7 separate regions of the Homo sapiens genome follow, and regions 2, 3, 4, 5, 6 and 7 are each linked to region 1. The links are contacts of gene promoters, found by promoter capture Hi-C in blood cells and fetal thymus (Javierre and others, 2016). All regions are on one chromosome and are shown on one strand. Each heading gives the region's core, a stretch centred on a gene start or on the middle of the fragment in contact. The rest is flanking DNA. Distances are from core to core; before and after follow the strand shown.

Evidence for each region. Contacts are between HindIII fragments. The CHiCAGO score rates a contact against its expected background, and 5 or more counts as called.
Region 2: a fragment that was not itself captured here is called in contact with the fragment with the promoter of SEC13 in region 1 in 1 of 17 cell types (activated CD4 T cells); the score reaches 6.3 in activated CD4 T cells.
Region 3: a fragment that was not itself captured here is called in contact with the fragment with the promoter of SEC13 in region 1 in 2 of 17 cell types (M2 macrophages and endothelial precursors); the score reaches 5.5 in M2 macrophages.
Region 4: a contact is called between the fragment with the promoter of IL17RC here and the fragment with the promoter of SEC13 in region 1, in 3 of 17 cell types (non-activated CD4 T cells, activated CD4 T cells and total CD4 T cells). The highest score is 6.2, in non-activated CD4 T cells.
Region 5: the fragment with the promoter of JAGN1 here is called in contact with the fragment with the promoter of SEC13 in region 1 in 4 of 17 cell types (activated CD4 T cells, total CD4 T cells, monocytes and 1 more); the score reaches 5.4 in activated CD4 T cells.
Region 6: a fragment that was not itself captured here is called in contact with the fragment with the promoter of SEC13 in region 1 in 2 of 17 cell types (fetal thymus and activated CD4 T cells); the score reaches 6.8 in fetal thymus.
Region 7: a contact is called between the fragment with the promoter of CRELD1 here and the fragment with the promoter of SEC13 in region 1, in 15 of 17 cell types (fetal thymus, endothelial precursors, total CD8 T cells and 12 more). The highest score is 9.8, in fetal thymus.

The regions. Positions count from the first base shown.
Region 1 is chr3:10,319,608-10,322,725 of GRCh38, reverse strand. SEC13 (SEC13 homolog, nuclear pore and COPII component) reads left to right here and starts at 1,614. Exons shown (of 9, transcript NM_183352.3): 1 at 1,614-1,676. The coding sequence starts at 1,674. RefSeq lists a silencer at 1,379-1,458 and enhancers at 1,306-1,901, 1,649-1,948. The HindIII fragment of the contact is 12,357 bases long and covers 1-3,118 here.
Region 2 is chr3:9,865,803-9,868,561 of GRCh38, reverse strand. It overlaps CIDEC (cell death inducing DFFA like effector c), which reads left to right. Exons shown (of 7, transcript NM_001321142.2): 7 at 1,266-1,848. The coding sequence ends at 1,428. Among named protein-coding and RNA genes, the nearest start is that of CIDEC, 13 kb to the left of the region's middle. The HindIII fragment of the contact is 177 bases long and covers 1,273-1,449 here.
Region 3 is chr3:10,702,173-10,705,347 of GRCh38, reverse strand. It overlaps a transcript of ATP2B2 not described here. Among named protein-coding and RNA genes, the nearest start is that of LINC00606, 60 kb to the left of the region's middle. The HindIII fragment of the contact is 1,415 bases long and covers 643-2,057 here.
Region 4 is chr3:9,915,848-9,918,934 of GRCh38, reverse strand. It overlaps IL17RC (interleukin 17 receptor C), which reads right to left and starts at 1,837. Exons shown (of 19, transcript NM_153460.4): 1 at 1,515-1,837; 2 at 1,201-1,222; 3 at 860-1,012; 4 at 526-600; 5 at 326-435. The coding sequence starts at 1,619. It overlaps IL17RE (interleukin 17 receptor E), which reads right to left. Exons shown (of 16, transcript NM_153480.2): 16 at 2,538-3,087. RefSeq lists enhancers at 1,926-2,115, 2,045-2,584. The HindIII fragment of the contact is 19,830 bases long and covers 1-3,087 here.
Region 5 is chr3:9,889,109-9,892,060 of GRCh38, reverse strand. JAGN1 (jagunal vesicle mediated transporter 1) reads right to left here and starts at 1,451. Exons shown (of 2, transcript NM_032492.4): 1 at 1,250-1,451. The coding sequence starts at 1,338. The HindIII fragment of the contact is 18,772 bases long and covers 1-2,952 here.
Region 6 is chr3:9,978,918-9,982,079 of GRCh38, reverse strand. All of the region lies in intron 1 of EMC3 (ER membrane protein complex subunit 3), which reads left to right. Among named protein-coding and RNA genes, the nearest start is that of EMC3, 6.3 kb to the left of the region's middle. The HindIII fragment of the contact is 2,506 bases long and covers 521-3,026 here.
Region 7 is chr3:9,932,103-9,935,083 of GRCh38, reverse strand. It overlaps CRELD1 (CRELD disulfide isomerase 1), which reads right to left and starts at 1,250. Exons shown (of 11, transcript NM_001077415.3): 1 at 1,164-1,250; 2 at 472-664; 3 at 167-249. The coding sequence starts at 645. IL17RC (interleukin 17 receptor C) reads right to left here. Exons shown (of 19, transcript NM_153460.4): 17 at 2,381-2,476; 18 at 2,226-2,264; 19 at 1,463-2,131. The coding sequence ends at 1,491. RefSeq lists an enhancer at 839-1,208 and silencers at 1,309-1,638, 2,219-2,278. The HindIII fragment of the contact is 19,312 bases long and covers 1-2,981 here.

The sequences.
Region 1 (3,118 bases), core at 365-2,864:
GAGGCAGGAGAATTGCTTGAACCCGGGAGGTAGAGGTTGCAGTGAGCCAAGATCATACCACTGGACTCCAGCCTGGGCAACAGAGCTAGAGTCCATCTCCAAAAAAAAAAAAACAAAAAAAACAACAGGAGATCCAAGAGATCCCCTGAAACCTGCCTTTGTTCCCTGCTCTAACCTAACCACCACCCCCTCACACCCCTGCAACAATTTCTCCACTAGAGGGCAATAAAAAATCTTGAAAGCTGCAGTGGGGTAGAAGAGTTGCCCAGAGGCCTGGCCCTTAATTCTAACACCCTACTCCCCTGGCCTCCCCTCCAAAGCTCCTTGACAGTTTGGGTCTATCACATTCTCTGAGCCTTAACATCTTCCTTCAAGCAGTGACCATCTCCAGCTAGGGTCCTTACTCCCAGTTTCAGCAGAGGAAACTGAAGGACTGTGACTTGCCCAAGGGGAGCCAAGGCCTCCCCCAGCTCATCTGCCTCCTTAATGTCACAAGGGGCCCAGGGCTAGACCATATGTGGCTGAGGCGGGGAGCCCAGGCTCTGTCCTCCAGTGTGGCATTCTCACTGCGCTTGTGGGGAGCCTTCAGCTGCCCTACCTTGTGAAGCCAGAGACCTGGGGTTGGGGACCCTGAGGATTAGGTCTGGGGCTCTAGCTGCAGGAGCCTGGCTGAGATCCTTCATTGCCTAGGGGGGTCTCCTTGATGGGACTTACTCAGGACCCCAGGGGATCGGTTTGGAAGGGGCAGTCCTATATAGGGGTTAGGGATGGCAGGGCCAGAGGTCCCAGCCTCTGGCGAGGGGCATTCCCTGGCCTCCTCTGCCCTGGTCCCAGTCCTTGGGTACTGAGAGGGAGACTACAACAAGGAAGCACTAGGACAGTCTACTTACTCCTAAGATGTCACTCATCCTACAACATTCATCATAAGACCAGTCGCACCCAGAGCCGTAGTGAGGCGGGTGAAGCTGCAGATAGATAGATGATAGATAGATAGATAGATAGATAGATAGATAGATAGATAGATAGATAGATTTTTTTCTTTTTTACAAGAGTGTCTCTCTGTTGCCCAGGCTGGAGTGCAATGGTGCAGTCACGGCTCACTGTAACCTCCACCTCCCGGGTTCCAGCGATTCTCCTGCCTCAGCCTGTAGCTGGGACTACAGGCGCGCGCCACTATGCCCGGCTAATTTTTGTATTTTTGGTAGAGACGGGGTTTCACCATGTTGGCCAGGCTGGTCTCGAACTCCTGACCTCAGGTGATCCACCCCCCAGCTCAGCCTCCCAAAGTTCTGGGATTACAGGCATGAGCCACCGCGCCCGGCCGATAGTTATATTAATCCTTTCTTTCATTTATGGATCTCAGGAAAAGGGCAGACTTGGTCGGGAGAGTAGACCCACCAGAGCTTCAGATTCCAAAGCCCTCCGGGTCAGGGTAACTGCGGCAACCAGAGCCCCAGCCCTCTGGTCTCGCACGTCACTGGAGGATAGGGGCTGGGCCACGGGAGGGCGGGGCGCGCCCTCTGGAAGGCGCGGAACTGCTGTGCGAGCCGAGCGCGTTGCTGCCCGGAGGCTCCTACGCCACGGCCCGTCGGGCCCGGCGCCGGAAGTGAGCTGTTCCGAGGCGCCGCCGGGAGCTGCCACGTCCGAGACCTGGAGCAGCCACCGCCGCAATCATGGTGAGTGTTGGTACTGAGGAGGCCTAGCAGGGTGAAGGCCACGGTCGCGGCCTTCACGGGTTCCTCGGCCGTCCTGAGTCCCAAATCCCAAGCTGGAGCCGTTCAGCTCCCCTCCACCGCTTAGAGATTTGGGGGGCTCTGGCCCCGTCCTTGCGGACCATTCCGAGGGGAGTCCAGAGGTGAGGCCGAGGAACCTCCCTGACTTTGCGGGGCGCGCCGCTCCTGCGTCTCCTGCCAGTCTCCCTTCCTTCTTTTCGGTCAACAATTGAAAACAAAACGAGGAACAGCAGAGGAGCTACTGTATACCGAGCCCTCAGCATTGTTCGTAATCTCCGCCTGCTAACAGCCTTGTGAAGAAGGTGCTATTCTTCTCAACACTTTACAGATGAGGACACTTGAGGTTCGGAGACGTGGAGCCTCTTGCACAGCTGCTTAAGTGGTAGTAGAGCCGAGATTTGAACCCTCCTAACCATTCCTTTCTGCCGCCTACTGCAGCTCCCAGCAGAGATGATTGAACTGTTGCTCGGGGTAGGGCCCCCAGGTAGGATGGGCACCTCGGGAAACGTAAAGATGGCCTGAACGACCCTCCGAAGGCAGGGGCTCAGGGTTTTTTAAGTCTCTGTGGCATCTGCAGTGTACATTCACTCCACACTTACTCCTTGAGTGAATGAATGACTGAAGGAGAACTAAAGAATGGAAGTATCTGGGCTGAGCCTGGAATATCTAGTACATGCATTCTTTTAGAAACATGGGTGTGTCTCAGCAGCAGGTTTGAGGGAACCTGCAGGAACCTAGAAATCAGAACACTGTGTTCTTGTTCTGCAGAGGGTTAGGTGTAAATCACTCACCTCTGGCTCTTCCACTGCAGGTTAGAGTTGAGGCTTTTATGCTCTGACATTCAGCTCATCCTAAATGAATTTTTAACTCATTATCTGATCTCAAAGAGGTGAATTATTTTGAGTGCAGGTGTTAACAGGGACCAGATAATACCAGGTCCCTGGGAAGAAGTACTCTAAGAAGTTCTCTCTCTCTCTCTCTCTCTCCCCACCCTCCCTCTCTCCCCACTCCCTCTCCCTCCCCCCTTCCTCTCCCTCTCCCTTTCTCTCTCTCCCCCTCCCTCTCTTCTCTCTCTCTCTCCCCGCTCCCTCTTCCTCCCCCCTTCCTCTCCCTCTCCCTTTCTCTCCCGCCCTTCCTCCTTCCTTCCGTCCTTTTCTCTCCCCCTCCCTCTTTCCTCCCCCCCCCCCCCCCCCGCCTTCTCTCTCTCTCTCTCTCTCTCTCTCTCTCTCTCATTCAGAAGTGTGGTTCATCAACCCTGACTGGTGGGTGAGAGTGGTTAGAATTAAATGCTGATTATTTCTAAGGTCCTTTGGTAACCTGGTTGAAACTACCTCTCAGTAAACTTTCTTCGTGAACCTACTTAACCGCAGCTTTACAGAACTCAG
Region 2 (2,759 bases), core at 112-2,611, 450 kb after region 1:
ATTGCTTTATGCTATTTCAGCCTTATGACCCTGGGTGGCAGGTGCAATCCCATTTTACCCATGAGGAAGCTGAAGCTCAAAGCTAGAGCAGTTTGCTGAAGTTCACCCAGCTAATAAGACTGGATTAGGACTTAGGCCTGCCTGATTCAGGTTCTGTTCTCAGTACATGCTCATGCCAGGCATGGATGTCTTCATGTCCAGCACTCTGAACATGAGCTAGACTGCAGGTGGCTTGGACAGGCCTCAGAGTCTAGAACAGAGTGTCTCAAGGTGCAGAACCATGTTATGGAGATTAATCTGGTTGGTCCAAAGTAGTAGTAGAAAAATAAAAGCCTTATGAAATGAGCTGGGGTTTTGCATGAGAAAGTAGGGAGGTTCCGGGCATCTCAGTTAAGGTGGAATTGCAGGTCCTCGCACTAATCTTGATCCCATCTGCAGCATCTGTTCCTATTTGCACATCGCTCTAGAATTGATGAAATGCTTTTAGTGCTACCACCTCAGTGGTATTCAAATGTTATTAATGAAGAAAACAAACATAATGAAACCAATCCCTTCCAGGCCAGCATGGGAATAAGGGGGTGCAGGGAGGGGGTACACTCTTGTTTTTATTTATTATGTATTTATTTATTTTTGAGACAGAGACTCACTCTGTCACCCAGGCTGGAGTGCAGTGGCACAATCTCAGCTCACTACAACCTCTGTCTCCCAGGTTCAAGTGATTTTCGTGCCTCAGCTTCCCGAGTAGCTGAGATTACAGGTGTCTGCCACCACGCCCGGCTAATTTTTTGTATTTTTTAGTAGAGACGGGGTTTCGCCATGTTGGCCAGGCTGGTCTCAAACTCCTGACCTCAAATGATCCACCCACCTCGGCCACCTAAAGTTATAGGATTACAGGCATGAGCCACCAAGCCCAGCCTTGTGTTTTTTGTTTGATTGTTTTTTGAGACTGAATCTTGCTCTGTCACCCAGGCTGGAGTGCAGTGGTGCCACCTCGGCTCACTGTGACCTCCGCCTCCTGGGTTCAAGCGATTCTCCTGCCTCAGGCTCTGGAGTAACTGGGATTACAGTCACCCACCACTATGCCTGCCTAGTTTTTGTATTTTTAGTAGAGACAGAGATTCGCCATGTTGGCCATGCTAGTCTCAAACTCCTGACCTCAGGTTACCCGCCCTCCATGGCCTCCCAAAGTGCTAGGATTACAGGCGTGAACGCCATGCCCGACCTACTTCGTGGTTTTGACTTGCGTGCCCTCTCATTCCACCCAGGGAAGCTTTCCGCTGGGCCCTCTTCAGCATGCAGGCCACAGGCCACGTACTGCTTGGCACCTCCTGTTACCTGCAGCAGCTCCTCGATGCTACGGAGGAAGGGCAGCCCCCCAAGGGCAAGGCCTCATCCCTTATCCCGACCTGTCTGAAGATACTGCAGTGAAAGCCCAAGTCCTTGGAAGCTTTCCCCAGTGAAGGACTGACTGGGGGCCTCACGCTTAACTGGTAGTGCCCACAAGCCTGGCAGCTGTAGAGCCGCGAACCTCCCCACACCTCCCTCACCGCGCAGGACCCTGAGTGAGGAGGAGGAGCTGGAAACCTGGGGTGGGTTGGCCAAAGGAGAACCTCAAGCTCCTGGCCTGATCCAGCTCCTTCCTGCCCAAGGCAGCTTAGCCCATCCAGACTGGTCCTGAAGTCTGTCCCTCCATTGGCATGAAGTCTGCCCCTTAGCAATCTGGCCTCGCAGGCTGTACTTTCATGGTGCTCTCTACCTTCTGGCCCCCATCCCGGAACATTCCTGAGTGAATTCGCAAGCGCACTAGCATGTGATATTAGGGAGTTTGCAATAAATTATTGAGGCTGATGTATCTTCTTTGCCTGTGTTCTTTGGGGTGGGGTTTTATCTGGAAGGTTGGAGGGGGCTAAAGGAAGAGACGAATCTATTGTCAAAGTATTCTCTTTAATGTAGGATTACAGCTAATGGCACTTTTTCTACCAAAGAAGAAAAAAAAAAACAGCTGGGCACAGTGACACGTGCCTGCAGTCCCAGATACTCAGCAAGCTGGGGTGGAAGCATCCCTTGAGACCAGGAGTTCAAGGCCAGGCTGGAGCACAATAGCAAGACCCCAGGCTCCTTAAAAAACAAAATTGCAGTTGATTTTGAAACTAAAGTCAGCTGAATTTGAGGCTTGAGCTGACCATGTAATTGATACCATAAGTAACAATTTCCTAATTAAATTCACCTATCAGAGGAGCTTCAATTGAGCAGGTGGGATTAAGTCACTCTTCTAATTTCTCAGTGTCCCATTTTATAATAACCGTTTAAGTGGTTAGGTGAAAAAGTACTACTCAAGCTGTAAGGCATTTCTCCATCAATGCCCATCCTAACTTGCCAGACAGCTTATCTTTCATGTTCAGGACTTTCAACCTCGGGATTTCAAAGTGGGCTCATAGGTAGCCCCAAAGAGTAGGAGCTTCTCATCAGTGTGAGCTGGCATTTTCCAGTATTGGACAACTCAAGACAAGCATGAAAGGCTGAACTTAGGCTGGGCATGGTGGCTCACGCCGTAATCCCAGCACTTTGGGAGGCCGAGCCAGGCAGATTACCTGAGGTCAGGAGTTCAAGACCAGCCTGACCAACATGGTGAAACCCGGTTTCTATTAAAAACAAAAAAATTAGCTGGCCAGCATGGCAGGCGCCTGTACTCCCAGCTGTTTGGGAGGCTGAGGCAGTAGAATCGCTTGAACCTGGGAGGCAGAGGTTGTGGTAAGCCA
Region 3 (3,175 bases), core at 101-2,600, 380 kb before region 1:
GATCTATTTAGGAATACCACCCCCACAATAGGTCCAGATCCAATGGCAACAGGACAAGAGTTAGGTCTGAAACAGCAGGAGTCAGCAGAGATTAAGTCTAAGCCTGGTGCTATGGGACATGGTAAGTTCTGAATTTTAGAAGGATGTTTGGAAGATTTGACTGTTCTGTAGGTAGAGAGCAAAGAGAGAATTTGTTGTGCAGGATTTCTCTTGATAAGAATTTGCTATAACCCAGTCCATACTATGGACTGCCTGAAAGGTCATGGAAATCTTTTTGTTATATGGAATCACTGCAGAAGAATTTTGCTAGCATTTGTAACAGCAGAACAGTTTCACTAAGCAAACTGATTGCCAGCAAGAGAAATATTAACCTACTTAAGGGAGAGGATTTTTAGTAGCATAATTTGCAAATAAGAGAATATGCTTATTATAAATTAAATCTTTTCTTTGTGTTAAATTGCATACAAGAAACTCTAACTTCCTCCTCCCTTCCATCTTCTTTGTATCTCCCCTGTTGTCATATAAATCTGTTGCAGAGTAATAAAACTGCATTTCTTTAGTAATGTCTTATTTCTCAGACTTTTCATTAATTCAAACTGGCCTCCTTTCCACCCTCTCCAATTAAGTGGAATTATTGAAGCTTTATGGTATCTAAAAATTAGAATCTGCTAACTGAACCCAAAAAAGGGAGCTAACTATTGGGGCCTTGGGATTGAAAAATCAGGCTAGAAATATTTGGGAAGCAGAAGAGAATTGGACGGGAAGGAGGAGGGAGCAGGGCCAGCTTTGTGGATGTGTGGCCTGTGCTAAGAAGGGCTTTCCCGCTAGATTTAATGCTCTGCAGTCACCGTATTGCAATTCTTAGCAGTTTTTGAACAGGGGGCTACACGTTTTTATTTTGTACTGGGTCCCACAAATTAGGTAGCTGATACTTGGAAGGAGACAGCAGGGAAGAGGTGGGTGAAGAAAAAGGTAGAAAGAAGAGAAGAGCTATGGATAGGGCAGAGAGAAGAGAAACTAGCATGGTTTTAAGCCCCTGCCATATGCCACTTGCTATGTGAGATGCTTTTCCATGTGTATCTATTTTCATGGCAGTCCTAAGACGTAGGTGATATTATCATCATTTTAAAATATAGGTTTTATTATTATTCAGTTATGGCGAGGCCAACCACTCAGGAAATGATGGCCTCTAAAAAGAATTTTACTTGAGATTCCTAAGAGGCGAGGACATGCTATGCCACACAGGGCCACATGGGGAAGCCCTAGGGTCAGTCAGGAGGCAGAGGGAGTGAGGGGAAGATGGGGTAAGAGCCTTTACTGTGGCCTCCACAGGGAGGGATGGGTGAGGCAGGGTAAGCAGGCTCGGGGTTGGCTACTTTGAATAGTTTCAGCAGGCTCTGGGACACAGTGGCTGTTCCTAGTAGTATGGTACCTGCCCCCGGGTGACTAGGGCAGGGCAGTGTGGCCCAGTGGGCAGGGGTTCCATAAAGGAAGCGGTTGGGAAGATGGGCTGAGCATTTATGAAAGGGGCCCTCATGGGCCAGTCATTCACTATGTCAAGTAATTGGCTCTCTCTGGGAGGGACAGCCCCTCCAGGGTTAGCAAGGCCCCAGATGTCAAAGCATCAAATGCAGAAGCTAGAAAACATGGTTATTACAATCCCCATTTGACAGATGAGGAAACTGAGACTCGAAGAGATTTCCATAAACTGCCCAGCCAGAATCACTCAAGTAGAATGGCTGTGCGGGCTAAAAGGTGTGTGCTGATCCGGAGTTCTAGGAAATGGCAGATGTTGGGATGGTGTGGGAGTGGGCCCCATAAATAGCATCTCTCTTCCACACTCCTCCAACAATTTGAGGAACAAATGAGTGGCAGGTAGAGGAGCCGAATATAAATTTTCTCCCTAATAGAATAGAAGCAAAGTTGGAGGTCCTGGCTTCATGTGAGGGTGAGGGTCAAATGGGGGCCTACTAACTGATTCCCTAGAAGGAAGACCATGTGGAGGTCCTGCCCAGGTAGGCTTCACTCAGGTACAGAGGGCACAGCCAGGACAAGCTTTCTGCGCGCAGGACTCCCTCCCAGGAGGAGAAAGGGCAGAGACGCTGATTGTAGCCCATCCCTCTTCCCATGTTGACCAATAAGAGAAGACACCCCGCCTCCTGAGGGTGGAGCCAGGAAAGGGGCGGGCAAAGGCTGGAGTGAGCCGCTGAGGATTGTCTCCAGGGGAGAGACCTTTGAAGAATGACGGAGGACTGGGGATGTTCGTGCTAAAGCCTGTGACCGCCTTTCTTCCCTCATATATAACCGTCTGTAAGGCTGGGCATTTCACAGGGCCATAAGGAGAGGGGCTGCATAGCTTCCATCAGGCTTCCAGAGGGCTCTGTGACCCGAGAAATAGGAAGCAGACCTAAATTACAGAGAAAAGGAATGATGGGAGTGGGGGAATGCACAAGCCTCCGCTAATCTCATTACAGAGTAAAGGGAATATCCATTGGTCTTAGGAGAATGAATATGACAGGGACAGAAAATGCCTCCCTGTTTTTTCCAGCAGCAGCTCAGGTGCTATAAATACTGTGACACTGTAACATAACATCTAGGCAGGATTCTGGGGAGATGTAATGACCCGGTTCCTTATTTAAAAATAAAAAGTGGGACTTAGGAAAATGACCAAAGATTGTGCTGGGCAGAGCCCAAGTGAATGACCGTGCAAGCAGATGAACCTGGAAAGGCTGAACAGGTCCTTTTAGTGTGTCCGTGTGCAAAGACAAACATCAGCAATGAGCTGCACCTGTGCGATGCTCCATCCTCTCTATACCATTCTGCCTGGGAACGAGTCAGTGCTTTCTAATTGTGTCGCTGTGATCTTGGGTAAGTGGCTTCAGCTCTGTCTGTCTCAGTTTCCTCATCTATAAAAGCGATCCTAAGAGTGCCTGCCTCATGAGTACTTTTGGGAGAATGACAAGGACTAAGACAAGTCAAAGTCTCAGAATAGTGCCTGGCACACGCGGTAAGCACTTTCGGATGTCAGCTATTAGTGTTACTATCGTGATCACCTTGTAATTTACAGAGCACTTTTCACATATAATTTTTACCTTCTAGTCCTCACAGCAAGCCTGTGATGTGGCTAAATACCACTTCCTTTCCCCTACAAGGTGGCTACTCATTAATGAAGCCA
Region 4 (3,087 bases), core at 588-3,087, 400 kb after region 1:
GCACCCTGAAAAACGCTTGGTGATTTCTCGCAGTCAAGCATATGAAGTAGAACTATTCTCATCCCCATTTTACAGACATAAAAGCTGAGGCATAACAGGCTGAAGGGACTTGCCCACAGCGCTGATCAGAATCAAAAGAATAGTCCCACCTCACATGGCTGTTGTGAGAATTAAATAAGTTGATACCTGTAAAACACTGGCTGTAATGCCTGGTACTGAAGGGTTTCAATAAATTTAATTCTTTTGTAATCCTCAAAGAGATAATGCATGTGAAAAAGTTTTATAGATTTTAGGTTTAGAAGGTGATTATTATTATTTTGCATACCACAGACTGACCAAACTGCACAAGGGCAGCAGGCACTTGCACCTCCAGCAGGACGCAGCGGGCAGTAGGGTAGGCCTGGAAGGAGAGCACGACTTGGGCCTGGAGAGAGGCTGTGGGCAACAGGGCAGGGGTCAGTCAGGCCCAGGAGCGGCAGGCCAGGCCTTGGCATGGGGCAGTTGGGCCAGCCAGGTTCTCCTCACCATTCCTAGGCTCCTCCACCCCTGAGTCAGCTGCTCCTCCAAACTTTTCCTCATCTTCAGGCTCTTCCCAGTGCCCTAGAAGGACCCAAGAGCAAGGCCCTGGGTGAGGCCCCCTGCTCTGGGCTGGCTGGCTTTGGCGTTGGCTTCCTTCTGGAAAGCCCAGTGCTGGGAAGCAGGGGCTGGGGAGACCACACTGGCCTGGGGGTCCTTCTGCTGGTGTCCTCCAGGAGAACACTGAGGATGCCTAGCACTGCTTGAGAGATCCCCTGGCCCTCATGCCCACCCCAGACACACTCACGTGTACACATGCACTGTCACAGGATGACTTGCTCACCATGCACGGCCAAGTGGACAGCCACACGCAGACAGAGGTCACAGTCGGTCTCCTTCTGGCACCTCAGCACCAGCTCTGTCTGCAGGTGCGTAGGCGCCAGCACGGGGCCCGGAGCAGGCACGATGTCCCCAGGCAGGCAGAGTATGTCACTGTCTGTGTGTGGAGGAGCGGGTGGGAGCTGAAGCTGTTCCAAGCCCAGAATTTGGTGGCACCTGACATACCCAGAGAGCCAAAGAACTTGGCTGTCCTAGGCTGAGGTGGGCATGGAGGGCATGGGCCTGGGACAGCTCTGCTCCCTTCGGCCAACCTGGGAAATTCTTTTTAAAAGTAGGGATACTTACCCCAGAGGCGGCAGGAGAGGCCCTGGGAAGGAAAGAAAGGAGAGTCAGAATTTGTGCCCCCACCATCTAGGCACTGTTCTCTGCCTAAGACCTCCACCTACCTTTTTCTGGGGCTCCGTATTCCCAGACCCTCCCAGAGAAAGACAGACCCAGCTCTTGCCCCTTCCCCGTTCTTCTCTTCTACCATCAGCACCAGACAGACCAGACAGGGCAGTTCTGGCAGTGGCAGCAGTGACAGGAGCCAGGCTAAGGCTTTGCTGAGCCAAAAACTGAACCCTGAGCCTTTCCTCGTCTCCCCAGGGTTCCAGACTCACCGGAGAGCAGTGGGTAGCGTCCTGAGGCCCCACAAGCCTCTCCAGAGAAAGGACCACTGGGCTTCGGCCCAGTGCCAAGGACAGCAAGAACCAGGGCACAGGCATCTTCTAGGTGCCAGGTGGCACCCAGGCCTGAGGCCCTGTGCTGCCCCCCCCCAAGGGGGGCAGACACCCCAGTCAGCCCGTGTCTGTGGGTGGCAGGGGCTGGAATCCCTCTTCAGCCTCCAGAGGGGGCGGAGGGGGCTGTGCTGGGTAGTTTGTGCACTCTCTGTCCTGGGAGTCCTGACTCTCCTCCTACTTCCAGCACGGAGTGCTTTCGTTTTGGCTCCCGGCAGGCTGCTGGCTGTTCCCGCCCCTCTCTGTCCCTCCCACCAACACCAGGCTTGGGAGCCAGCAGCCTTGGACTAGGGTGGTGGCCGCACCTCCTCCTTCTTTGGCTCTCCTCTCCCTCTGCTGACACCTGGCTGGGAGGGGCCCCTGAAGAAGACAGCGAATGCATCACGGCTGAGTAAGGGAGCTCTTACTCACCCCCGGAGCCCTAAGGAGGACACAGCCCTGGAGTCCTGGGCCCACTAAGTCTCCCCTTACTAGGCACACTCGGTCCCTTCAGACACTCTTTGGGCCTCGGTAACCCTTTGTGGGACAGGAGCTCTAAAAGCACGGACAAAAGGCACCAGAAAGTGGGCTTTTCACCACTGCCTGGCTCAAATGCGGTATGGGGAGTAGAAGGAACCCAGGACCCCAGAGCCTGGCAGACAGGGGTCCCATCTGTGCTGTTGCTGTGGGCCGGCTGTGTGATGATGGACACACCATCTGGCGAAGCCTCTGTTTTCCTCTCCTCTTGTAAGAATCACTGGGGGGGATCAAGGAGATTGCCCCATCCTCCTTTGCTTTTGGAGGCATTGCTTGTAAGAATGTGACGGATGCCATGCGGTATGGACACAGAGGATTTGGGCCAGCACACTGACACATACCCCACCAGGCAGGCTCCCCAGCCACACTAGAGAAGCACACTGTGTTTTCTTAGTTTGTCATGTTTGTCTTTATTCATCTTTCCGGATCTTGGTCCCCACCGCCAGCACCCACCCACCCCACCCCCAACCCCCACTGTCCTGACCACCTGGAGCCAAAAGCCTCTTTTCCTAGGTCCAGAGTCCTCTCTCCCTCTGGCCAGAGCCTCAGAGTGGGAAAGGGAATCCCTGGCCCCCAAGGAGGTTTTCTCTCAGCCGCCCCCTGCAATCCCCCACCGCCTCACCCTCCTTCAGAACTGACATGGCTCCTGCCTCCCTACCCCGGCCCCAACCTCTCCAGCCTGGACTGAAGCATAAGCACACTGCTCTTTCTGGAGTTCTGGAGAGGAAGTGGGAAGACCGCCCTCCCCCATCAGAACAGGGGTTAGAGGAGCTCTCAGTCAAGGGAAAGTATGAGGAGGAAGAGGGACGCGCGCGGGGACTGGGCTGGGACTTCCGGCCTGTGAGGCAGGGAATGCGGCTTTTCGGCCAGTCGTCCTCGAGGCACCCCAAGGATTTCAGGGTCGAAGGCTCATTCCGGGGTTCCAGCCAGTGTCCGTTGC
Region 5 (2,952 bases), core at 202-2,701, 430 kb after region 1:
CTGGGCGACAGACCGTGACTCCGTCTCAAAAATAAATAAATAAATTAATAATAATAATAAAGGCAGAAGGGTAGCTCAGAGCTGTGTTTAGCAAGAGGACGCTGACTGCACCATAGGATTAAAGTCTGGCGGGAGAAGGTATTGGCAGAGAGGAAACGTACTCAGGCCGCCCATACTTCTCCAGCTAGATTTTTTCATCCAAAAGAAGTACATACTTATCTTATTCTTCTAATTCTCTCACGTCCCAAACGTATCCTCCTCATATCCCTAAAGGCAATGTTTCTACTCTGGGCTGGCATGAAAACACCTGCTTAAGTTGTGAGGGCCCTTTCAGCCGGGGCCTAGAGATGTGAAACAAATGAGAGTTCAAAGAGCTTGTCATTCTTTAAAACTCTGGAGAGAGAGATGTGAAGAACATTCTGGGAGAGATCAATGGATTTAAGGAAGTAAAAATTTTAAAATTTTTATTTAAAAATATTTATTGTAGAAAATGTGGAAAGGTTGGAAAAAAAAAACAGTCATCTCTAGACTTCAAGCTCCATGAAGGCAGGGAACAGTTTTTTTTTTCTTTAATAAAATTGTTTATTGAAGGTATAACATGTATACAAAGACCACGTCTGCTTTTGCTCACTATTATAACCTAGTGTCTAGCAGTGTATGATGTTTGGAAGCTCAGTATTTGTCGAACTAGTAATTGAATGTAGAAATACCCCTTACGTGGGAGTGTTTATAAAATTCATTTTAGGCAAGGCGTCCTTAGGAAAGGCTGCCTTTTACTGTCTATATCCCCCCAAACGGCCCAAAATATAACACCTACCATATATTACGTGGTAGGCCTTATGCTACTTTCTTTACACGAATTACTGATTAATCTTTCACCAAAACCTAAAAGGCAGATTATTCTCTCCCTCTACAGATGAGGAAGCTGAGGCTCAAATTAGAAATTCGGTTTCGAAGGTGATACAGCGGGGCCAGCATCGACGTGACTCGGGAGCCCACGCAGGGCGGGAGCCCACGCGGGGCTGGATCCCCTCAAGGCACCGGGCGGAACAAGGGGTGGAGCTCGCGGGGGCCACGGGGCTTTCCAGGATGGGGGACAGGCCCGAAGCCGTCACGGGAGGAGGGGACTTGGCAGGTGAGCGGGGGCTGGCTGGGGAGCAAGACCCTGAGGCCGGGCCGGCGTCGCTCCCCAAGCCCCGCAGGCTCCAGCGGGGGAGAAAGCCTCCGTGCTCCTCGCCTCACTTCATACCTCATCTGGTAGTGCATGGCGACGCGCTCCCGGTGCTGAAAGTCGCTGCCGTCGGTGCCGGCCGCTCGCGGGCCTGCTCGAGACGCCATTGTGCCTGCCCAGAACCCCCGAACCCCTCACGCGGACCTGGTACCGCAACGACACCGCCAAGCGGCCCACTGACCCTATTTGCGCCCCCGCAGCCGCGCGGCTCCGTGAAGAGAACTTCCGGCCCCTCTGTCTCTGGAGGACCGACTCTATGGTCACTCCTCTCCGCGCAGGCGCCCTCGTTCCCTCTCGCCCCCGCCCCGCCCAGCCCCGCCTCTTGTGGAGCGCGCAGGAAATTAATCCCCAGCCTCTTTTGCTGGCGCCCAGAGGCCGCTTGAACACTTTTACTTTCTTAAGCTGTAATATCAGTTAGGATACTTCTGTCCACACTTTACAGAGGGGGAAACTGATATATTCTATGACTTTCCCTGGAGCACACATCATTCACACAGCCTCACACCTTTAATCCCAGCACTTTGGGAGGCCGAGGTGGGTGGATCACTTGATGTCAGGAGTTCAAGACCAGCCTGGGCAACATGGTGAAATCCCGTCTCTACTAAAAATACAAAAATTAGCCAGGTGTGGTGGGTTCCTGTGACCCCAGCTACTTGGGTGGCTGAGGCAGGAGAATCGCTTGAACCAGGGAGGCAGAGGTTGCAGTAAGTCGAGATTGTGCCAATGCACTCCAGCCTGGGGGACAGAGTGCAGAGTGAGACTTTGTCTCAAAATAAGTTTCTCACATTTAATTATTGCAAAGAGAAACAGGGAATCTCTCAGTGAGGAAATCTGGCTTGTCTCCCTTAAACATATAGTCAGTTAATTTGATCAATAATGAGATAAACTGATATCTTGTGCCTCTTTTAATAGACTGAGGACACAGCATCACTTCTATGATGTTTCTGCCAAAAATACCTAACTGAATCTAATCATGAAGAAATGACATAAATCCAGACGGAGGGACAGTCTAGAAGAGAGCTGGACTGTACTCTTCAAAAATGTCAAGGCCATGAAAGAAAAATTATTTCCAAATAAACTTTATCTGTAGAGACAAAGTAGAATGACCATTGCCAGAAGCTCGAGGGGTGGACAGAGAATGGGGAGCTAGTGTTTAATGGGTACAGAGCTTCAGTTCGGGAAGATGAAAAAAGTTCTGGAGATGGATGGTGGTACTGATTGCACAACTATATGTGTGTGCTTAATGCCACGGAAACTGTACACTTAAAAATGATTAACATAGTAAGTTTTATGTTATGTGCATTTTACCACAACAAAATACTAAGCGAAACTTTAAAGAAAGAAGTTATATTATCCGAATAAAGAAAAAAAGAAAGAAAAAAGCATGTATAGTGAGCATCTTCCATGCACCAGGATGCTCTGCTATGACCTGGGGACGCAGAAATAAACATGGTCCATTTCCCCTGAGGGATCCCAGCCCAGTCGGGGGAAGAACTTGTACCCATGAAGCTAAGAAATTCAAGAAAACACAGGAGGCTGAGGGAGGAAAAATGAGGCCTCTCTCCCTGACCTGGAGGGTTAGGAAAGTCTCTCTGGAGTGGCAGCAATTGAGCTGAGGTCTGAAGCCTGAGTGGGAATTGGCTAAAGAGGTGGGGAGCGGAAGAGCTTTTCAGGCAGAGGGAACAGCATGTGTGAAGGCCCCAAATCCAGAGAGCACTTGG
Region 6 (3,162 bases), core at 524-3,023, 340 kb after region 1:
ACTCTGCGGGCTGAGGCAGGAGAATCTCTTGAACCCAGGAGGCAGAGGTTTCAGTGAGCCGAGATCACGCCACTGTACTCCAGCCTGGGTGACAGAGCAAGATGAGACAATGTCTCAAAAAAAAAAAAAATTTTTTTTAACAGGTATTAAACCAAAGCTGTAAAATACATGAATGAAATATATTAGACTAGGTTTGGGGATAGATTATGTGTAAAAAATGGTTCTCAGACTTGACAAATATACTACTGACATTTTGGAAAGGAAGAAACACTGATTCTTAAGAATTTGGAACTCTGGTTTGAGAAGTACTGACTTTAAAGTTTTATTCCAAGAAAATATCTTTCAGGCCTGGTGCAATGGCTCACACCTATAATCCCAGCACTTTGGGGGGCTGAGATGGGAGGATCCCTTGAGCCCAGGAATTTGAGACCAACCTTGGCAGCATGGTAAGACCCTGTCTCTGCAAAAAATAAATAAATAAATAAATAAAAGATGTCCTTCAGTTGCAAATTACAAAGCTTTATAACAGTACAGAGACTTATTTTTAGATATTCATGAAAATAAAAATACAAAATTAAAAATTTCTTTTAGAATTTGCAAACTTCAGAGAACACAGCTATGGATCTCAGCTTAAGAAAGTGAGTGTTAGAAAATACAGGATAATTTAAGATTGCTTATTTAGGTCTTGAAATACCTCAGGGTCACAATACTCAACTTCATTTTTACAAAATTGTTCAGCAGTGTAATTGTAGGAGATTTAGATGAATTTCTCTTGATTACACTGCCTGGGAAAGTCTTGAGTTATCGTAGACTGGACAAGTGTTTTTTCGTTTGTTTTTCTGGGGACAGGGTCTTGCTTTGTCACCCAGGCTGGACTAAAGAGGTTGAGGCTGCAGTGATTGAGGCTGCGATCGCAGTGGTGCGATCATGGCTCACTTCAGCCTCGATCTCCCGGGCTCAAGTGATCCTCCCACAGCCTCCCGAGTAGCTGGGACTACAGGCACACGCCACTGCACCTGGCTAATGTTTAAATTTTTTTGTGGAGACAGTGGTCTCATTATGTTGACTAGGCTGTTCTTGAACTCCAGGGCTCCAGGGCTCAAGCAATCCTCCCACCTCAGCCTCCCAAAGTATTGAGATTACAGGCGAGAGCCACCACGCCTGGCTGTGAACAATGGCCTTTTGATGGCCTATCATGTGCCTTGCACTCTGCTGCATGCTGTGGGGTACAGTGTAAGACAAGGTCACGACCCTGCTCTCAGAGTTTCTGTTCAAGTAATAAAATATGCAAAGGAAAAAATAACAGATACTATTAATCTAGTGCTTAGGATGTGCCAGGTACAGTCATATAAGATCATATATGTGAAGAACTCAGCCTAAAATTCTCCACTTGGCTGGGTGTGGTGGCTCACGCCTGTAATCCCAGCACTTTGGGAGGCTGAGGCAAGTGGATCACTAGAGTCCAGGAGTTAGAGACCAGCCTGGGCAGCATAGTGAGACCCTGTCTCTACAAAAAAAAAAAAAACAAAAAAAACAAAACACAAAAGTTTGCCAGGTGTCATGGTGTGTGCCTGTAGTCCTAGCTACTCGGGAGACTAAGATGGGAGGATCACTTGAGCTCCAGAGGTCAAGGTTGCCATGAGCCAAGATTGTACCACTGCACTCCAGCCTGGACAACAGAGTAAGACCCTGTCTCAAAAAAAAAAAAAAATCCTTCATTAGTTTCCTTTTGCTCTTAAGACAGTGATCAAAATACAGTGGGACCTGGCTGGGCATGGTTTTTCATGCCTGTAATCCCAGCACTTTGAGAGGCTGAGGCAGGCGGATCATCTGATGTCAGGAATTCGAGACCAGCCTGGCCAACATGGTGAAACCCCATCTCTACTAAAAATACAAAAATTAGCTGGGCATGGTGGTGCGCGCCTGTAACCCCAGCTACTCTGAAGGCTGAGGCGGGAGAATTGCTTGAACTCGTGAGGCAGAGGTTGCACTGAGCTGGGATTGCGCCATTGCAGTTCAGCCTGGGAGACAGAGTGAGATTCCATCTCAAAAAAAAAAAAAAAAATACAGTGAGACCACATGATTTTGTATAGTCTGGCTCTTGCACACCTCTCAAGTCTTGTTTTCATCACATTTTCTATAGTTCTCCTTTTTCCAGTCATGTGGCCTTTTCTCAGGTCCTCAGAGGCAGAGTGTTTACTTCTACGAGGCTTTTGCCCATTTTGTTTACACCAGCACTTTGCCAAGGTAATCCTCACTCATCCTGAAGAGTCCAGCTTAATCCTACATCCTCAGCAAACTCTCAGACCTTGACTTTCCAGACTCCATCACCTCCTGGTTATGCACTCTTGCAATACCATCCATCTCTCTCTAGGACATGATAATTGAATTTCACATTTATTCCTCTGGTTATTTGGTTAATGTCTTTCCCCCTCACTAGACTTTGACCATCGTAAGATATTTGTATTTTGATCACCGTTCTTCATGTCACCTGGCACTTAGAAGTTCAAGAAATATTTGTTCAATGAAAGAATAAATCTACCCTTGTACAGAATATGAATAGAGACTTAGGGAATTTAAGTGACTTGCTCAAGATCACATGGCTAATAAGTGGCAGAGGTGGGATTGAACCCATGTGTTCAACTCCAGAGCTTAAGTTTTTACCCATTACTCTAGACCCAGTGCTTCTTATACTGTCAATGGTGAAGGACCAGTTTTGGGGTTTTTTGTTTTTTAAATTTCTAATCTCTTATAGGCTAATACTTTTGTAAAATATTTTGATCATGTATCTGGATGTTGTGACAATGTCAAATTATTATAAAAGTCTCTAAATCCTTACTCTCAGTGTCTGTGCTTATCACAGACTAGCATTCACCACACTTTGAGTATCTTTAGACTAGCATCCAGGGAGCAGAATGTATTACATGTTGCGCCCTGTAGATAAAGTAGAGAACTGTATAGCATAATGAGCTCAGGAGGAGGAAGCAGAGAGAATTCCACGAGGGCTCCAGGCATTGGGAAAAGCTTCGTGGAGATGCTGAGACTTGAAGATGTTAAGGCATGATGGAGTAGAACTCGGAAAGGAAAGGGCACTGGAACATTCCCAGCATGTGGAGAAACTAGAATATGTGTAGTGTGACAGGGGAAACCCCGGGGTACTGA
Region 7 (2,981 bases), core at 1-2,500, 390 kb after region 1:
TCCAGGAAGGGGGCATTTTGCTTGCCTTGTTTACTGCTATACTATAGATGTTCAGTGCTATTTGTTGAATGAATAAGTGCTCCCCAAGAGTTCCTAGCCCTACACCAGCAGAGCAGAGATTTGGCGGGGAGGGGAATATACACCCCTTCCCCCAGCAGCCCCTTACCTGTCTTTGTATTTGGACAAATTCTCTTCCTCCCAGGCAGTGTTTCCACCTCCAAAGTTGTCCCGGATGGTTCTCTCCAGGCCCTGGAAACAGAAAATTAGTAATAGCTAAGTACAGTGCCTGGCACATGCTAGCACTTCACTGTTCTACTGACTAGGAAACTGAGGCACAGAAAGGCAACCTGCCTAGGGCCATACAACTAGTAAGAGACCAAGATGAAACTTAAATCCACGCAGATTTGCATCCCAGAGTTCCCCACTCTAAATCGCTGTGTTCCCCTCTAACGAGGCTGCCGGTGCACCCACCTTGTTAAAGCTGTCAACCAGTCCCCGGCAGGTATGACACGGATGGGGCTGAGGCGGGGGAGAAGACTGGGGAGGTGGAGAGGGCTGGAGCCAGATAGGTCCTGGGAGGTTGAGGAAGAGGCTGAGGCCCCAGAGCATAGCTGGGACTAGGCCCTTCGGGGGCCATGGGGCCATCTTTACCCAGGCTGGGGACCTGCAGATAGAGGGCGTGGAGAGGCTTCACTGAAGGAGTCAGGCCCCACGCGAGAAAGAAAAAGGTCTGTTCTAAGGTGCCGTGGCGCTGGGATCTGCGTTATTACAAGCAAAAGAGGCCAAACTGGGTATTGCAGGGGCTGTGGGGATGGGTGGGGAAAGGCGCATAAGATGCAATTCCAGAAGAGAAATAAGTTATCCTCGCTAGCATGGGGTGGAGAGGAAAGTGGCCTCGCTCCTTGACAAGGGGGCAGAAGTCAGCCTCTTGTCTGAGGGTCTGATAAAGAATATTAGGGGCCGGATCCGCAGAATTAGGGAGAAGAGATCAGATTCCAAGTACTGAAGGAGAGGAGGCCAGAGGGGTTGTCTTGGGGGAGGTGTCCGGAACCCCGGGCTTGGAGGGAGGAGCCCGGATCCGGATATGAAGGGAAGGGATCAGATTCAGGGCCTCGCAGAAGGGCAAAGGCACGGCCCACGAGCCGGCAGAGAAGGATCCAGACCCTCGTAGGCCACGGAGAAGGAAGAAGCGACCGCCCCAGCCCGCGGGCGCCGTGGGCCGTCTCCTCACCGCGTCGCTGCCACAGCCTGCGTAAAACGCACAACCCCCACCCGCGCCGCAGTCCAGGGGGCGGAGCTTGCCGCCCAGCCAATGGCGACGGGCCATGTGCCATTACGTCACCCCACGCCAGCCAACCAGAGGCGGCACCGAGCTGCACCTGTCCGGGCTTTAAAGGGCCGCGGGGCTAGGGAATGACGTTTGCCAGCCCCGCCACTGAAACGGAGACGCGTGTGGGCCACATGGGTAGAAAAACAGCGTCTGCCTTTATTTAAGTCCCGTCCCCCGCCCCAGGTCCCGCGCCTGGTCCCACCCCGCGTCCCGGCGCGGGAGTCCCCGGGGGATGGAAGTAGCTATCCAGGGCTGGCTGAAGGGCCCGGGACACTTGCTCCGCTCTCTCTTGGAGCCGCCCGGAACGCGGGGCGCGAGGCTGCTGCAGGGCCCCCAGGAAGTCTGGCAGTTGGGAGGGCAGTGTGAAGACGGGCACGGTGCGGAAAAGGGCGGGTACGGCGTCCGGGTGGAGCAGCCTGTCGAAGCAGGCCCCCACGTAGCTGCCGGGCGCCCGGCCCTGCAAGAAGTCGGGCAGCACGCAGCTGAGCGAGGCGCGGAAGGCGTCGTGCGGGCCGTGCGCCCCGGGCCCGGACACCCCATCCTGTAGCCACTCGCTGCACAGCGCCACCGCACCGGGAGAGAAGAGCAAGACCACCACGCCGCCCTCCTGCAGGGTCTGGCGCCGCTGCGCGTGAAACCAAGCCACGGGCCCCTGCGCGCTCAGTTCACGACGGCTCCACAGGTCTACGGCCACGCGCAGCGGCAGCTGGCACAGGGCCGACGCCAGGGCGCCCACCAGGCGCTCGAAACCCGAGTCATCGGCTGAGTAGAGGAGCAGAGCCGCGCGGCCCCTGGCGGCCGCTGCCGGAGAAAACAGATGGGGAGGGAAGAGGTGAGCTGGCACAGGCCTGGCTCCCCGGGGGCGGCCCTCCGCCCAGCGCTTGCTCCCACTCACCCCCCGAGCGGACGTCCTGTTTCAAGAGCCTCAGCCACCCTGTTAGGGGAGAGGGGCGGAGGCAGCCAGTGAGCTCGGCCGCCGCTTTCCCTCGGAGAACTCCCACAGCCACTCTGGTCCTCCCCCAGGGGAATGGGGAGCCGGGAAGCGCTCACCTTTCGCGTGATCCTTTTTGAGAAGGAGGATGAGGGAAAGCGCAGCGGCAAAGAGTAGGCAGGCCAGCCACACGAGGGCCCAGCGCTTGTGGATGTCTGGGAGACCCAGAGAAGAAGAGTTAGAAACTTACCCTCCACAGAGAAGAAAAACTGAGACTTAACAGAAATGAATTGGGCCGGGTGCGGTGGCTCATGCCTTTATATAATCCCAGCACTTCGGGAGGCCGAGGCGGGCAGATCACGAGGTCAGGACATCAAGACCATCCTGGCTAACACGGTGAAACCCCGTCTCTACTAAAAATACAAAAAATTAGCCGGGCGTGGTGGCACACGCCTGTAATCCCAGCTACTCGGGAGGCTGAGGCAAGAGAATCGCTTGAACTCGGGAGGCAGAGGTTGCAGTGAGCCGAGATCGCGCCATTGCACTCCAGCCTGGGCGACAGGGTGAGACTCCTCTCAAAACAAAACAAAACAAAACAAAAAACGAAGAAATGATTTGCCCAGAGTCCACAGCACAGTGTCAGAGCCAGTGGATGAATATAGCTCCATCTGTTTAGGGGTCTTTGAATAAGTAATGTCACCCTCTGCCTCAGTTTTCTCC